Regions from separate parts of the Homo sapiens genome. Here all the other regions are linked to region 1. The links are contacts of gene promoters, found by promoter capture Hi-C in blood cells and fetal thymus (Javierre and others, 2016). All regions are on one chromosome and are shown on one strand. Each heading gives the region's core, a stretch centred on a gene start or on the middle of the fragment in contact. The rest is flanking DNA. Distances are from core to core; before and after follow the strand shown.

What was found. Contacts are between HindIII fragments. The CHiCAGO score rates a contact against its expected background, and 5 or more counts as called.
Region 2: a fragment that was not itself captured here is called in contact with the fragment with the promoter of RPL23A in region 1 in 1 of 17 cell types (naive CD4 T cells); the score reaches 5.7 in naive CD4 T cells.
Region 3: a fragment that was not itself captured here is called in contact with the fragment with the promoter of RPL23A in region 1 in 6 of 17 cell types (M0 macrophages, naive CD8 T cells, naive CD4 T cells and 3 more); the score reaches 8.6 in M0 macrophages.
Region 4: a fragment that was not itself captured here is called in contact with the fragment with the promoter of RPL23A in region 1 in 1 of 17 cell types (endothelial precursors); the score reaches 6.0 in endothelial precursors.
Region 5: a fragment that was not itself captured here is called in contact with the fragment with the promoter of RPL23A in region 1 in 2 of 17 cell types (endothelial precursors and M2 macrophages); the score reaches 6.6 in endothelial precursors.
Region 6: a fragment that was not itself captured here is called in contact with the fragment with the promoter of RPL23A in region 1 in 1 of 17 cell types (fetal thymus); the score reaches 5.0 in fetal thymus.

What each region holds. Positions count from the first base shown.
Region 1 is chr17:28,718,660-28,721,351 of GRCh38, forward strand. RPL23A (ribosomal protein L23a) reads left to right here and starts at 1,326. Exons shown (of 5, transcript NM_000984.6): 1 at 1,326-1,371; 2 at 2,048-2,231. The coding sequence starts at 1,347. SNORD42B (small nucleolar RNA, C/D box 42B) reads left to right here and starts at 1,891; the gene lies at 1,891-1,957. RefSeq lists enhancers at 1-582, 583-1,184, 841-890, 1,321-1,540, 1,881-2,040. The HindIII fragment of the contact is 1,784 bases long and covers 1,151-2,692 here.
Region 2 is chr17:29,171,521-29,174,212 of GRCh38, forward strand. All of the region lies in intron 1 of MYO18A (myosin XVIIIA), which reads right to left. Among named protein-coding and RNA genes, the nearest start is that of MYO18A, 7.5 kb to the right of the region's middle. The HindIII fragment of the contact is 5,821 bases long and covers 1-2,692 here.
Region 3 is chr17:29,126,637-29,129,328 of GRCh38, forward strand. All of the region lies in intron 2 of MYO18A (myosin XVIIIA), which reads right to left. Among named protein-coding and RNA genes, the nearest start is that of MYO18A, 52 kb to the right of the region's middle. RefSeq lists an enhancer at 841-1,376. The HindIII fragment of the contact is 2,505 bases long and covers 117-2,621 here.
Region 4 is chr17:29,083,313-29,086,004 of GRCh38, forward strand. MYO18A (myosin XVIIIA) reads right to left here. Exons shown (of 42, transcript NM_078471.4): 40 at 2,292-2,336. Among named protein-coding and RNA genes, the nearest start is that of PIPOX, 42 kb to the left of the region's middle. The HindIII fragment of the contact is 5,237 bases long and covers 1-2,692 here.
Region 5 is chr17:29,040,197-29,042,888 of GRCh38, forward strand. No RefSeq gene overlaps it. Among named protein-coding and RNA genes, the nearest start is that of PIPOX, 1.6 kb to the right of the region's middle. RefSeq lists an enhancer at 2,424-2,692. The HindIII fragment of the contact is 825 bases long and covers 948-1,772 here.
Region 6 is chr17:29,005,697-29,008,388 of GRCh38, forward strand. It overlaps SEZ6 (seizure related 6 homolog), which reads right to left and starts at 337. Exons shown (of 17, transcript NM_178860.5): 1 at 119-337. The coding sequence starts at 173. All of the region lies in intron 2 of LOC105371716 (a long non-coding RNA gene), which reads left to right. RefSeq lists a silencer at 100-283. The HindIII fragment of the contact is 934 bases long and covers 861-1,794 here.

The DNA of each region.
Region 1 (2,692 bases), core at 76-2,575:
AGGGGACATGTCTGGTTTTATGAAGGGAGAGGGAAGAAGAAAGGATCAAGTGGGGATGGGTTAGGCACACACCTTAGGAGAAGCGAACCTGAGTGTTAAGAAACCTTTCTCTGTGTCTGGAGCTGAATTTGAGGATGTAAAGATGACCAGGACACGGAAGGGAAGACTAGTTTAGGGCAGGGGATTGTGAGTGAAGTTACTAACCGGAAAAACTAGCGAATCTTGGAGAAATGTGTGGAATTTTCATAGAACTTCAAATGCATTATCAGGAAACGCAGTAAAACTTGACAGTATCAGTGTCGCAGGTAAAGAGGGGCAGGTGTGGCCGCCTTGTACTTCCTCTGACACTTCCCCCTCGTGACTCGATTATTTATTTATTTATTTATTTATTTATTTTGAGACAGGGTCTCACTCTGCCACCCAGGCTGGAATGGCTCATTGCAGCCTCGACCTCCAGGGCTGAAGCGATCCTCCCACCTCAGCCTCCCAAGGAACTGGGACTACAGGCACGCACCACCACGCCCGGCTAATTTTTGTATTCTTTTGTAGAGACAGGGTTTCGCCGTGTTGCCCAGGGTGGTCTCGAACTCCTGGGCTCGAAGCAATTCGTCCACCTCGGCCTCACAAAGTGCTGGGATTACAGGCGTGAGTCACCGCGCCCGGCCCTGACTTGATTTTTTTCTGCCACCAAATCACTGTGTTATTGATAAACCACATTCCTCTCTGGACCTCAGTTCGACCGAGCAAATCCTGCTCCAGCACTCTAGAACTTAGCTGTATCTAACTCCCGAGTCAATCCAAATGTGTTCTTTCCTCTTGGCAGCGTTCCTGCCTCCTGGCATGGCAATCCTCTTCCCTGAGACTGGCAGTTGCTCAAGATAGGAAGCTCCCGGGACCAGACCCGAGCGCCAGCCGGCTACGCCGTCCGCTGGCCTGAGCAAATAAACGCGTGTCTTCAAAAAACTACAATCCCCATGGTGGCACGCGCCTGTAGTCCCAGCTACTCTGGTGGCTGAGGCAGGAGAATGGCGTAAACCCGGGAGGCGGAGCTTACAGTGAGCCGAGATCGCGCCACTGCACTCCAGCCTGGGCGACAGAGCGCTCAAAAAAAAAACAAAAAACAAAAAACAAAAAACTACAACCCCCATGAAGCTTTAGTGCCTTTGAGGGGAGGAGTGGCGCATGTTTGTTCACGCACGAAAAAGAAATTAAACCTAACTACCGTTCCCAGAGGGCGCCGCTCTGCAAATTACCCAATCAGCTCTAAGTACAAAGCATCGCGAGTCTTTAGTGCTCTTTGGCGCTATAAGCCCGTGGGAACGAGCATTGGAGACCCTTTTCACAAGATGGCGCCGAAAGCGAAGAAGGAAGGTGTGTGTTGGTGATGGGGCCGCAGCTGGTTTACCGGGGATTGCCGCGCCGCAGAGCGAACGAATTGGGAACACGGCTGCTGGGCTAAGCCCTGAGGGCTCTGCTCCGGGGCTGCTCCCTGCGTTTCGGACACGCTGCAGTATACGTGGGCCGCGTGGGCCCAGCCTCGTGGGCTGAGTTCCGGTAGAGGGAGTTGGGGGGGGGCAACGCGGCAGGCATCATCCGCCAGGGAGGGCCAGACATTCGGTTCTGGGAAGCTACATGCATCCACTGGTTGGAGCTCCATGTCCCCGGGCCTGTAAGGAATTAGTGCCCTCAGCTTTAACCATTTTCCTTCTGGTTCATGTTCAACCGGGCTACATTACCCGCCCCTCTCTCCGCAGCGTGGTTTTGCGATGGGGTATGTGTAAAATTCGTAGGACATTTTCTGGAAAGTATCAAGCGTTCATTCAGTGCTACTTTGTTTCATAGTCGTATCCCTGGAGTTACTTAGAGTTGGTCGCTTTCGCCTCTGGTATCGTGCATATGATGGAAAAGTTTTAATCTCCTGACACTTGTGATGTCTTCAAAGGAACCACTGATGCACCTGTGGCCAGGGTGGCCCACTGCAGTTCTTGGGGCCGGAAGTGACCGATTTCTAAATCCCGCACCCACGTTTTCTTTCCTTTTCTCCCAGCTCCTGCCCCTCCTAAAGCTGAAGCCAAAGCGAAGGCTTTAAAGGCCAAGAAGGCAGTGTTGAAAGGTGTCCACAGCCACAAAAAGAAGAAGATCCGCACGTCACCCACCTTCCGGCGGCCGAAGACACTGCGACTCCGGAGACAGCCCAAATATCCTCGGAAGAGCGCTCCCAGGAGAAACAAGTCAGTACTGCCCCCTGTACCCATGAAAAGATTTGGGTATTCTCCATTGGTAATTTGGAAATTCACTCACTCTGCGTGATGGTTTCTCAAACGCAAATTGTGTCCAGTGTGCTTCTCTAATTGGAAGTATGAGGAGATTGTTTCTGCTGCATTTACAAAACTGGCAGGATCAGCCCAGAGGCCGGGCGCGGTGGCTCACGTCTGTAATCCCAGCACTTTGGGAGGCCGAGGGGGGGCGGATCACTTGAGGTCAGGGGTTCGAGACCAGCCTGAGTGACATGGAGAAACCCCGCGTCTATTAAAAATAGAAAATTCGCCGGGCATGGTGGCGCATGTCTGTAATCCCAGCTACTCGCGGGAGGCTGAGGCAGGAGAATCGCTTGAACCCGGGAGGTGGAGGTTGCGGTGAGCGGAGATCGTACCATTGCATTCCAGCCTGGGCAATAAGAGTGAAACTCTGT
Region 2 (2,692 bases), core at 78-2,577, 450 kb after region 1:
TGAATGATATGTATGTTAAAGTATTTGGGGCGAAATATACTGATGTCTACGTTTTACTTTGAGATGTGTAAAATTTTAAGACAGCTTGATGAGGTTGGGCAAGGTGGCTCACATCTATAATCCCAACACTTTGGGAGGCCGAGACGGGCAGATCGCTTGAGCTCAGGAGTCGGAGACAAGCCTGGGCAACATGGCAAAGCCCTGTCTCTACTCAAAATACAAAAAATTATCTGGATGTGGTGGTGCATGCCTGTGGGAGCTACTTGGGAGGCTAAAGTGGGAAGATCACCTGAGCCTGGGAGGTCGAGGCTACATTGAGCCACGATCATGCCATTGCATTCCAGCCTGGGTAACAGAGTAAGACCCTGTCTCAAAAGAAAGAAAGAAAAAAAAAAAAAACCATAGCCTGATGGATGGATCAAGGGATACAGATGTGTAAAAGCAAGGATAGGAAAATGTTAATTGTAGAATCTAGGAAATGGAGGGTATTCGTTGCAAAATTCTTTAACTTTTCTGAATGTTTGCAGGTCATTGTGATAAAATTTTGGGAAAAAATATGTATCTATCAGCCACTTCCTAAAGGCAAGCAACATAAAGATAAGTAAGCCCAGTGTCAGAGCTCAGGCTTTGGATATCAAGTAACAAACCTGTGAACAAATCTGAGTAAACAGGGCCGGGCGCAATGGCTCACGCCTGTAATCCTAGCACTTTGGAAGGCCGAGGAGGGCAGATCACCTGAGATCAGGTGTTCGAAACCAGCCTGGTCAACACGGTGAAACCTTGTCTCTACTAAAAATAGCTGGGCATGGTGGCATGCGCCTGTAATCCCAGCTACTCAGGAGGCTGAGGCAGGAGAATCGCTGAAACCTGGGAGGCAGAGGTTGCAGTGAGCCGAGATCATGCCACTGCACTCCAGCCTGGGCGACAGAACAAGACTCTGTCTAAAAAAAAAAAAATTAAATAAAAATGAAAAAAAATATGAGTAAATAGCTATGAAATCTCAGGCAAATCACTTAAGGCCTCCATGCCTCCATTTCCCCATCTATAAAAATGGAGATAATAATGGTACCTACCACCTAAGGTGGGGGAATTAAATGAAATATATTTAATTACCCTCAGAGAGGTACCTAATAGTAGCAGGGCACAGTTTTTGCAGTCTAAATGACACAGTAGAGAGGATAACAGAGTACACAAGTATGACTAAAATAAGTCAAAACCTTTGTACATGGAAAGTAAAGCCCAAAGAAGTGAAGGTAACTTGATAAGCACAAGGCCAAGCTGGATCACACTGGCTTGAGTCCAGAGGGCCCACGTAGCTAGTGCCAAGGATACTATGGACAGGCAATTTGTAGGGGCAGAAATACAAATGGCCATCAAACATGAACAGGTATTCAGCCTCCATAACATTCACAGACATGTGAAATTGAGGTATACTATTTTCAATTAGCAGTTTAGTAAAAACTATCAAGGTTGATAATATCAATCAATTAGGGCATGGGATGCAGGGAGTCTCATAAGTCTTGGTGGAAACACAAATTGGTAGGTTGGTGCAAAAGTAATTATGGTTTTTGCCGTTACTTTTTTTTTTTTTGAGACGGAGTTTCGCTCTTGTTGCCCAGGCTGGAGTGCAATGGCCCGATTTCAGCTCACTGCAATCCGCCTCCCGGGTTCAAGCAATTCTCCTGCCTCAGCCTCCTGAGTAGCTGGAATTACAGGCATGCGCCACCATGACCGGCTAATTTTGTATTTTTAGTAGAGACGGGGTTTCTCCATGTTGGTCAGGCTGGTCTTGAACTCCTGACCTCAGGTGATCTGCCTGCCTCGGCCTTCCAAAGTGCTGGGATTACAGGCTTGAGCCACTGCGCCCGGCCCTTTTTTTTTTTTTTGAGACGCAGTCTTGCTCTTTCACCAGGCCAGAGTGCAGTGGCACGATCTCTGCTCACTGCAAGCTCCGCCTCCCGGGTTCACGCCATTCTCCTGCCTCAGCCTCCCGAGTAGCTGGTACTACAGGCGCCCGCCACCGCGCCTGGCTAATTTTTTGTATTTTTAGTAGAGACGGGGTTTCACCATGTTACCCAGGATGGTCTCGATCTCCTGACCTCGTGATCCGCCCGCCTCGGCTCCCAAAGTGCTGGGATTACAGGCGTGAGCCACCGCACCCGGCCTGCCGTTACTTTTTAATGGCAAAAACCTCAATTACTTTTGCACCAACTAATGTATTTTCAGAGGTCAAGTCAGTGGTATCTGTGAAAAAAAAAAATTTTTTTAAGAGACAAGGTCTTGCTTTGTCACCCAGGCTGGAGTTTGGTGGCTCAATCATAGATCACTACAGACTTGAACTCCTGGGCTCAAGTGATCCTCCTGTCTTAGCCTCCTGAGTAGCTGTGACTACAGGTGTGCGCCACCATTACTGGCTAACTTTTTAAAAATTGTTTTAGAGACAGGTTCTTGCTATTCTGTCCAGGCTGGTCTCAAACTCCTGGCCCCAAGCAATCCTCCTGCCTCAGCCTCCTGAGTAGCTAGGATTACAGGCACCACCACTGCACCTGGCATATGAAAATATTTATGTACATATTCTTTGGGCAATTCCATTATAAGACATCTATAGGTACATTCACATAATATACATGGCTAATCCTTGCAGCATTGTTTATAATAGCAAGTCTATAAATATAAAAGTCCTTACTAGAGA
Region 3 (2,692 bases), core at 119-2,618, 410 kb after region 1:
TCCAGACCCCTCTCCTTCCAGCCAGAAGGAGCCTGCATGAGCACAGGGAAGTAGTGGCAAAACTTGATGCTCCTCTCCCACACCCTGGGAGGCCTCAGCAGGGTCCAAAAAAGGGAAGCTTGAAGAGAACTGTCCCCAACTCAGAGGCCAGCCAAGAAGGCAACACTTTCCAAGGGAAAGAGGCTGGACTGACCCTCCCTCCTGCTTCTCAGCCTCCTGCCCCACCCAGAGAACACTTTCTGGGAAGATAGGGTTGCCCCTATATCCCAAGGGGCCCACTGTACCCATCTGCCATCCAAGCACAGGGCTCCTCAAGAGTCCTGCTGCCAGATGGTCATGCTGGCCAGGCCTAAAGAAGGCAGTGATGGCAGTGAGGGCATCAATAACAACTGTTATTAGCACCACTATCAACGCTACCATTTATGGAGCACCCACCATGCCAGGGACCGGCTTGGAGCATTATCTGTATCATTTCTAATCTTCTGGTTACTTAAAACCCTTATTAACCCTTATTTGCAATTCCAAAATCCCAAAAGCCCCCCCAAACAAAATATTTTTCTTAACTATTTTGGCGGCAAAACCTGGCAGTTTATCCTCTATGCCCCTGTAGTGTGAATATTCATAGATTTTGCTTTGGAAATATTAATGTTTGTTACACGTTGTTGCTCATTATGTATACTGTATGGCACTAAAATACAAAGATTACTAATTTCCAAAATACTGCCACACCCAGGGTATCAGAGAAGAAATTTTGGACCTGTATTATCCCCACTCAACAGAGGAAGTCTGAGATGGGACTTTGCTGAGGTCCCAGGGGATGAGTGGCTGGGAATGCAAGCCCAGATCCCTGACTTGAGAAAACAGTCTTTCCTCCTGGAACTGATCTGCTGAGACTCTGATCCTCGGGTTTGGGTCTCAGGCCTCAAGCTGGCGCCATGTAGCTGGGGACCAGGCCCTGACTCCCTATGGCAAGGCCAACATGCTGCTTAGCAGTTTCCATCCCAGCCGCCAGGCCAGAGCCCAGGCAACTGCAGGGTCCGCATTGGGTTAGGGAAAGCCATGCAGCCCCTGCCGGCCATCAGCACACGACCCTGGGCCCAGCCTCTCGGTCATGCGGGGTTCGCTGAGGTCGCTTGGGGAAGCCGGCTGTGAGGGTGCCTGGCCCTTGAGCTAGGGTGGTGAGGGGCAGGAGCGGTTAGTGACACACTCTTGTACCTCCTGCTTCACACCAGGGACTGGTGACTTGGACTGCTGCTCTCCAGTGAGGTCTGACTTCGGGCCGGTGGAGCCTGGGGTCACCAGCTCTTCCGGTGGGGCTGGGGAGCGCTGCTTCTTTGGGGCTTCAGGCTTGGCTGGGGATCCTGCTTTCTCAGGGGAGTCTGCCCAGTCTGGGGAGCCTGGCTCCTGGCTGGAGGGCTTCTCCCCCTTCCCAGAAGACTGCTTGCCGCGGGCCTTGTGCTCCTTGCCCCTGCCCCGAGACATCAGGCTCCGCAGGCCCAGGGAGAGCTCATCCTTGGCTGCCTCCTTCTTCACTTCAGGCTTAGGCGGAGCAGGGGGAGGTGGGGGAGGGGGTGGCGGCTTGGGACTAGAAGCTGCCTTTTCTCCCCTCTTGCTTCGAGTCGGGTGCTCGGGGGACTTGACTCCTCTGCCTGGGGTCTCCTTGGCATTCCCAAGCTCCTCGCTGGGCAGCACCTTACTCACCACCTTCCTCACTGCATTTGCCACCCGCTTCCGGGACAGGCCCTGGGCCTCTTCGCTTAGGCCTTCTGCTGTGGCAGCTCCCGGGCCGTTCATGGCGAGTGTGGGTGCAGGGCTCCTGGCTCTCTGGGAAGTCTCTGGGGGTATCGGGCTGGTGGGAGGCTGAGGACTCCTAGATGGGCCACTGCCTTCCTTTGAGCTGCCCTCTAGCTACAGTCATACAAATACAGGTAGACATTAGCATCACCCCTGCAGCCCTGCCCATCCCATGCAGAGGGAATAAGAAGGTGTGACCTCACGCCCTGGAACAGATCTCCCATTCATCTACCAAGCAACACATGGCTCCACGAGGCTACCCCAGGAAGCCCACTTTCCATCTTACAAATAGGACAACTGCAGCTAAGAGTCTGGCTTCTTTCCCACAAAGCACAATCAGCACAATCAGGTACTACTGTCACCTGCTGTCTATCCCCAGACTTAGCATGGACCTGTGAGATGCCGGCACAGAGCGCCGAGAGGCCTATGAGGTGCTCTGGGGTTACTGGCTTTGTGTCAGGGCAGCAACCAAGTCCCATTCTAGGTGAGCCCACTGCCTCGCAGCCCAGACACAGCAGAGATGGAGCATGGACACAGCAGAGATGGAGCATGGAGAGGTCAAACAGCCGAGTCCCACCTCCATTCCTACCACCAATCCCAGGCCTAACTCCAGGGCGTCCTGACCTTTGTAGTCCTTGGTCCTTCCATCACCTGTTTTCCGGGCAGTCAGACCAAGAGCCTACCCATCCTGAAGGAAAAAATGATCAGGGAGCTCTTCCTGGCCCCAAGACATGCCAGGCCTCCTCCTCACAGCGTCCCTCGTCTGCGGCCACTGTCTGCCCTTCATCTATGTTCTCAAGCACTGAGGAGCCCAGCACGGGCCAGGAAGCTTCCACTTCAGCCTGCTTTCTGCCAGTCTCCTTGCAGTTTTCCTCCTGCAAACCTCTCAAGGGTTTGG
Region 4 (2,692 bases), core at 85-2,584, 360 kb after region 1:
ATGGCCACCCCCTCATGAAGCAGCTGGGCTTGGAGATAGCTTCTGAGTAAGATTGCTTCTAAAATTCTGCAGAATGTCTGCTCACCAAGTTGCCCTGCTATGGATAGGCTAGGGTTTCTCCTCGATATAAATTTCCTTTCCTCTGTGTCAAGAGGAATGGCTCCATTCCTGAATTATGTTCTTAAATAAACAGCCACACAGGCATGTGTGCGCGCGCGCGCACACACACACACACACACACACACACGAAACCAGCAGATTGTTCTGGGGACCATGCGAGAGCCCAACTCATAGAGAGGGGAATAAAGAGGCATGTTTTATGGGCTTCCATCAAATACAGAATTATAACAAAGACGAGGCTGGCTGATGCCCCGGGTAAACAGGAGTTTAGCAGACAACCTCGAAACTGCTAATGCAAGCCCTGTGCCCGTCCGAGCCTGGCAGATTTACTGTGGTGCATGGGCCCCATGGAACACCAATACCACCTGATTTATACACCTGTGCAAAAAACCTCCCTCTCTAGCTTCAGAGCCTGTAATTTATCACCACCGTTCATAACCATATTGATTGCCTTTAGAAAGGAGGTGCTGTATGCATCGCAAAATCTATGTCTACATGTTAAAAGCGTTTCCATATAAATCTCCCTTAATACCGTGCTGTTTACTGCTTTCATTAAGGTTATGGCAATAACAACTGTATCTCTAAGTAAATCGAAACATTATTTCTCTGCCTGCCTTACTGCGCTGGGCTCAATAACTTGGAGCTGGGGCCCAGAGCTGCTGAGGAAGGAGCCACACCACCTCTCTGCCATCAGCCGGAACCTGGTTAGAGCTGCACGTCCCCATGCGTCTATGTGAGCACACACCAGTGTGTGTGAGTGTGTGTGCATGCGTGGTGTACCTGTGTGTGTGCATGCCTGGCAGTGGTTTAGAATATGATCTTAAATGCGCATTTTATCAGCCCTTGAAGCTCTTGCCACACAAGGATGGCAGGGTTGAAACACACAGGGGACAGACAGTTGTGGGCCCAGAATATGAATTTTCCTCCTTACATACAGAACAGTGGATGGGTTGCAAAGCTGGCCTGCCTGCCCTCGCCTTCCCTTTAGTTGCAAGCATCTAGAAGATGTTCTTTTCCTTAAATAATCAGGCCCGTAAACAAACTCCAGGGGCAGGCAGGCTCAGAGGGCAGTTGAAATTTTAAATGGTTGGAATTAAACCTCACGTCAAATACAATTTATGTCCGGGCTCATGTGCTATTAGTTAACGGGGAGCCGAATCACGGGGGAACAAACAAACGGAGACAGAACGGCGGGGGATATTAATTGTGTGTGACAACCAGGCTCCAGCGGCCCTCTATCACTGTTACACACTATTACATTTATCATTAGCTCTCACTGAGTCCTGTGCGCTGCCACCAGCCCATCCTGGCCAGGGGAGGGGGTCCATCAGGCGAGAGAGAGTGGGGGAAGAAACCCAATGCCATGCTAAAAAAAAAAGACCTCTAAAAAACAACCCTGTCGAACTTGATGGAGGATCAGCCCGCTCTGCCTGAAGGCCTGCGCATCTGCATCCGCTGTCCAGCTCCCACCCAGAAAGCGGGAAAAGAGAGGGCTGGATTTCCTGGGCTTCCTGCCACCTGACAGTACCAGCACAAGCGCCCGCTGGGGCCTCCCTCTGCCCACGGTACCGCAGGGAGTAAAGTAAACACATCTGGCTGTGTTCCCTTCCCCCGCCACGGCAAGCAGCCCATGATTAGCTGCCTGAATGCTTTCTCCAAACAAGAAACTGGGAGATGCCCCTCACCTTCTACCCTTGTCTGCCAAGAGAAGGTAGTGGACCTTTAAAGATGAAACACGCCCGCTTCTTTCAGGCAGCTCAGGCTCCCAAGGAGCCCAAGGATGTGGACAGATCCAGCCCAAACAGACTTTTCCCCCCAGAGAAATAGGCCAGGGAGGTGGCCACACTTGGTTTTTGAGGGAGGAATGTGCTGGAGCTCAGGAAGGTAAACTTCTCAAATAGGCTGCGCTTTCCTTTCGGCAGGAGCCCCCCCATCCTGCCCACCAAGGGTGCACGGGCCAGCCCCAGCCTTCTGGGGAGCACACCTCATTGCCCGCTCCCTGCCTCCCCCGAGGATAGAGTCAGCATGTTAGCGTTAGAGACCAGTGAGGCGGGAGTGTGGGGAGGCTGTATCCACATGCTGCGTGCAGCGGCCCCAGGGTGGGAGCCAGTGTTAGGGGTGGTTAGACACCCGCGAGGACAGGCAGAGAGCACATGCGCTCCAGTCCTCACAGTTTATTCTTTCTTTTCTGATACTTTGTCACCATGTCCTGCAAACTGGAAATAGAAGGAAAATGGTGGGCAAGGGGTCCAGAGGAAACAGATGAAATCAATCGGCAACCCAAGGTGGACCCCTTAGCTGAAGACCTCTCTTCCCTCAGCAAGAGCCAGCTCTGGCTGGTTGAGACCAGGTAGTGGGATGCGTGATGGCACTGTCCTCAAAATCTGATGCGGGCTGCCCCTGGCACCTCTCCCCTGCCCCAAAGCAGCAGGGTCCCTGCGCTGCCCCAGACCTGCCTGCAGGATGGGCCCCAGCCCTAAGGTGGGAAGGGGGCAGATCTAGGGTCCACCTAGGGCAGCCCTGGGAGCTTCTCCATGGCCTGGTGCTACCCCGCACTGCTGGCCTTCCTTCC
Region 5 (2,692 bases), core at 110-2,609, 320 kb after region 1:
AGCCTGGGAATTTGAGACTGCAGTGAGCTATGATCACACCACTGCACTCCAGCCTGGGTGACAGACTGAAATCCTGTAACAGGAAAAAAAAAAAAAAGATAAAGAAAAATCCAGTCCGATGGCACCTCCTCTCTGGGCTCCTGTTTTCCTAAGAACAAAAGGGCTAGGCTGAGAGGACAGCCAGTTGCCAAGATCAGTCTGGGGGATTACTTGTGGAATGAGAAGCATTGCTGGCGGCCTTGGCAGGCCACTGTAAGGAGGCAGGGCAGCTCCCTGTAGTCATGTGGGTTTCCTGGACCATTATTTTCTCCCACTCATTGTGGGAGAAATAGCAAAATATTGAAATCGGAATCATCATTACAAGTTCTGACTCATCCTCAGTAAAGCACAGTGGTTAAAGGAACGGATTCTGGGGCAGACAGACCTAGGTTCACAGTTCAGTGTCTTTCTTTTCTTTCTTTCTTTTTTTTTTTTTTTTTTCCATAGAGCTGGAATCTTGCTCCATTGCCCAGGCTGGAGTACAATGGTGTGATTATAGCTCACTGCAGCCTCAAACTCCTGGGCTCAAGTGACCCTCCTGCCTCAGCCTCCCAAGTAAGTAAGACTACAGGCATGCACCACCATCCCTGGCTAATTTTTAACATTTTTTGTAGAGATGCGGTCTTGCTATGTTGCCCAGACTGGTCTCAAACTTCTGGCCTCAAGTGATTCTCCCGCCTCGGCCTCTCAAAGTGTTGGGATTACAGACGTGAGCCACTGTGCCCAGCCTCAGTGTCTTTGTATACCAGGGGTGTTGCTTTGGGTAAGATAGAATCTCTCTAAGCCTTCACGTCTTCAGCCATTAAGTAATATTTTGGTTATGGCTGTGTAAAAAACCTCCCCAAAATGTTGTGGCTGAAAACAACAACCATTTTATTCTGTTTCATGGTTTTGTGGATCAGGAATGAAGCTTGACTGGGTGATTCTTCTGCACTATGCAGCATCAATTGGGTCACTTGGTACTATTTGGCTGGTGCTAGGCTGGGCTGGAGGAACCAAGATGACTTCACTTTTCTTTGAGACAAGGTCTTGCTATGTTGCACAGGTTTGTCTGGAACTCCTGGCCTCAAGCGATCCTTCCTGACTCAGCCTCCCAAACCAAGATAACTTCATTCTTATATAGAGTTCTCCACCTGGTCCCAGGTCCTCTCCATGTGAACTCTCCCATAGGGTGCCTGCACTTCTAACATGGTGGCTCAGGGCTCAGAGAGTAAGGGCTCCTTGGCCAGGTGCGGTGGCTCATGCCTGTAACCCCAGCACTTTGGGAGGCCGAGGTGGTCGGATCATGAGGTCAGGAGTTCGAGACCAGCCTGGCCAATATGGTGAAACCCCGTCTCTACTAAAAATATGAAAAATTAGCTGGGTGTAGTGGCGCTCGCCTGTAGGCCCAGCTACTCGGGAAGCTGAGGCAGAAGAATCGCTTGAACCCACGAGTCAGAGGTTGCAGTGAGCCAAGATAGTGCCACTGCTCTCCTGCCTGGATGACAAAACGAGACTCCCTCTCAAAAAAAAAAAAAAAGTAAGGGCTCCAACATAAGAAGAGGAAGCTGCCAGTCTCTTTAGGGCTGTGCCAGAAAGTGTCATGGTATCACTTTTGCCATATTTTATGGGTCAAGCAGTCACAGAGTCTGTGATAGAAGGAGTGAAAAAGAATTTGGGGCCATCCTTAATCTGCCAAAAGTAGGCATAAAAATACTCCTAAGCCAGGTGCAGTGTCTCACACCTGTAATCCAAGCTTTTGGGAGGATGAGGTGGGAGGATTGTATGAGTCCAGGAGTTCGAGACCAGCCTGAGCAACACAGTGAGCCCTCGTCTCTACAAAAAATAAACAAAATTAGCTGAGCATGGTGGCATGCGTTTGTAGTTTCAGCTACTCGGGCGGCTGAGGTAGGAGGACCCCTTGAGCCCAGGAAGTGGAGGCTACAGTGAGCCGAGTTCGTGCCACTGCACTCCAGCCTGCGTGACAGTGAGATCCCAGAGATCCTCTCAAAAACCAAAACTTCAAAAACAAAAACCCGCAGAAACTCCTAGGGCTATGAGGAGTAAATGAGATAACTCATGCAGAGGCAAATTTACCATGAAGCAAATGAAACTTCAACCATGGGGGTCCTTAATTGAACAGTTTCTTCCACATCCGGGCATCTAATTTTGTATTAATAATTCTCCTTTTTTCTTTTTCTCAAAGAGTACCCTCGAACTGTATGACAATCAAGCCCTACCCAAATGCCAGTATCAGTACTTACTAAGCATACTGCCTGGGACAGAGAGATGCTCAACACGGGGCCCCTCCAGGCACTGGGCTGGCCTGGTCCCCTCTCTGTGGCTGAGGAGAGGGCTCCTCCTCTCACTCTGCCCTTTCTGTCTTTTCAGGATCATTTCTTCTTTCTTCAAAATGAAAGTAAAACATGCTGGGAATAATTTCATAATTACAAAACTGCCCTCCCAATTGGCCCCTGCCTCTACCCCCTGACCTCACCACCCACCAGGGAGGTGGGTCTTATTCTGGGCATCGTGCCAAGTTCTTAGCGGGGCCCTCTAGAATCTCTAAAGCAAATCAGGCTGAAGAGGGGAAAACCAGCAGGGGGAGGCAGCATTCCCGGTGCCCAGTATGGTCTAGGAGGCATTGAAATTCCAGGGCCGAAGTCCTGAGACA
Region 6 (2,692 bases), core at 78-2,577, 290 kb after region 1:
GGGGCGCGGTGCTTGGACTGGGCAGCCAGATGCCCGAAGCTGGGCACCGGGTCTCCCTTCCCACCCCTGGGGCCCCGCTCCCGCCCCCGTCCTGCCGCCGGATGCCGGGGTCCCTTACCGTGAGCCAGGAGCGCCAGCAGCGAGGGCAGGAGCAGCAGGGCTACCGGGCGCATGGTGCTGGTTGCGGCCGCGCCCTGGGCTGGGACCGCGGCGGGAGGGCGGGGGGCTTGGTGGGGCTTGGGCGCGGGGGCAGAGCCGGGTCCGGCCGGGTAGAGGGAGCGGGGCCGCAGCCGTCACCGCCGCTGCCGCCGCCAGCGCCTGACAGAATCAGCACCACGGCCAGCGCCTGGCGACGGCGCCGGGGATCGCCGAGCGGGGCTGGGGGCGGGGGCGCGGGAGGAGCGGCTTACCGTAAAGTCTCATGCAAAGGCGCAGAGACCCAGGGGCAGGAGCCCAGGCTCCCGCTCCACCGCGACTGCCCTACTCATGTGGGCACACGGCCCCTGCCCTTCTGCGCTGCCCACCCCCAGCCAAGCATGCCACCCTCTTTCCCGTTAACGGCCTGCTAAGGAACCTCAATTAATAGCTCACTGTAGCCTTCTGATTCTCCATGAGAAAGAGCAACACTTTCCCCACCCCTCTCCACCCAATCCTGGTACCTGAGGGCGTCAAGGGTGACCTGGGAAGACATCCGAGAGTGAGGCAGCTGGTGAGGCCCGCGTGCCCTTGTGGCAGTTCCGTCTTGGGACGATAATGAAGATGGCTTTTGAGCGTACAAAGGATAATAAATTATTACTTTGCGCTCAATAAATGCCAGGGCTCCAGGCAGCTGCATCAGCAGCAAACTGTGCTCACAGAAAAGCTTAATTATCCTGATATTATAGTTAAAAGCCAGTGGCACTCGCATCCTGGGGAGACATTCTTCACTTGGCAGGAGGCAACCTGGGCCAAGCTGTGGGCAGCTGAAGGTAGTATCCTGGGTCCCCACGTAGCCCTGGGTCTCCAGGACTCTGCCTTGGCCCCTCTGCAGGACCAGAGAAGCCACAGTGACAGTCGATACAGACCCTTCATGCCATCTCTGCCCAGGTTTCTGGAATTGGTGGAGAAAATGGCATAGGCATGAGAGAGGGTTTCCTAGAGCTGTTATTTTATTTTATTTTATTATTGTTTTTAGAGACAGGGTCTCTGTTGCTTAGGCTGGAAATGCAGTGGCACAATTATATTAATAGCTCACCCAAACTCCTGGGCTCAAGAGATCCTCCCACTTCAGCCTCTCAAGTAGCTAGAACTACAGGCATGCACCCCCAAGCCTGGCTAATTTTTAAATTTTTTGCAGAGATAAGGTCTCATTATGTTGCCCAAACTGGTCTTGAAATCCTGGCCTCAAGAGATCCTCCCGCCTTGGCCTCCCAAAGTGCTGGGATTACAGGCATGAGCCACTGTGCCCTACGGCTGTTTTAGATAGAGACTTGAAGGAGGCCCAGGGGTGTAGCCTGTACTATTAAAGGCATGGAAAAATAACTTTCCAGGGCCCTGCTTGGGCTGAGGAGCCCCAGTGAGTCACAGGACAGCAAGGGGGCAGTCACAGCTGTGCCATCCTGAGGCTGCTCTTTAAAGGCAGGGGCTCATGGATGGGCTCACTTGAAGAGCTTTAATGGGTACAATGGGACAGGATCCTATGGCTGATGTTATTATTCCCTGTAGAGGAATAGGAGGGCTGAACTCCCTATTGCCCCTGGGAGAAGGGCAGTTTTTTGTTTAGTTTCTTTTTACATGAACTTGGTTGCTCTCCAAAGCTTCCAGACTCCAGTCATTGTCCAGTGTCCTTCCTGACCCTCATCCTGGAAGCAGGTGGTGAAATTTCTGCTCAAGTTCCTTAGAGAGTGTTTTGGTCCTCTTGACCAGAGTCTCCCAACTCTGCTGGTTGGATTCTCTCCAGACCCTCTTCTTGTGGGCTCTGGGGAGCTGTGATGACTGCTGTAAAGAGTCCCAGGCAGCAGGCAGATGGCGTGTGGAATTAGGAAGACGCTGGGATTTCTGGACAGTTGTTTTGAGAAGCTGAGGAAAAAGAGGGCAGCAGCAGAAGGATGGCAGGAAGAAGGAGGAGCTGATGCAAGAATCAGGGGTGAGGAGAGGAAGCCAGGAAAGAAGGTGCAAGAGGGGAGGCAGAAAGAGAGTTGCCAACAGAGGAAGGGAAGAGACACAGAGGTAGAAGGTTGTGTGACCGGGGGAAGTTTAGGAAAATGCTGGCAAATGTCATGAGATTCCTCTTTTCCTCCTTGAAAGTATTCCTGGGCTCCTCTAGTATTCCTGGTCCCTCATGGCTAGGCAGCTTGGGCAAGGGGAGTGAGTCATGACCTAGGGATGAATCTTGTATTGCCAGGATGATTCATGGGGATTTGGAGGTTGGTGGCAGGCTTGTCTGACTCTCTTAGCAACAGGGCTCCTTGATGGGCTGGGCACTATGCACATAAAGGAGGGGGAGAGAAGCCATCCTGGAACTTGTCACATCACCTTCCCTATGGCCTGAACTAACCTAGAGGGTCCAATGGAGACTACAAGTCCCAGAATACAGTACTGTACCCTGAGCTCAGAAGATGGGCTTGTACTGCATGATGGGCATGACAATGCACCGGGGCTGTCCCTCCCTCCTAAAGGCAGTTAACATAGCCTTTATGCAGTGGGTTCCTAG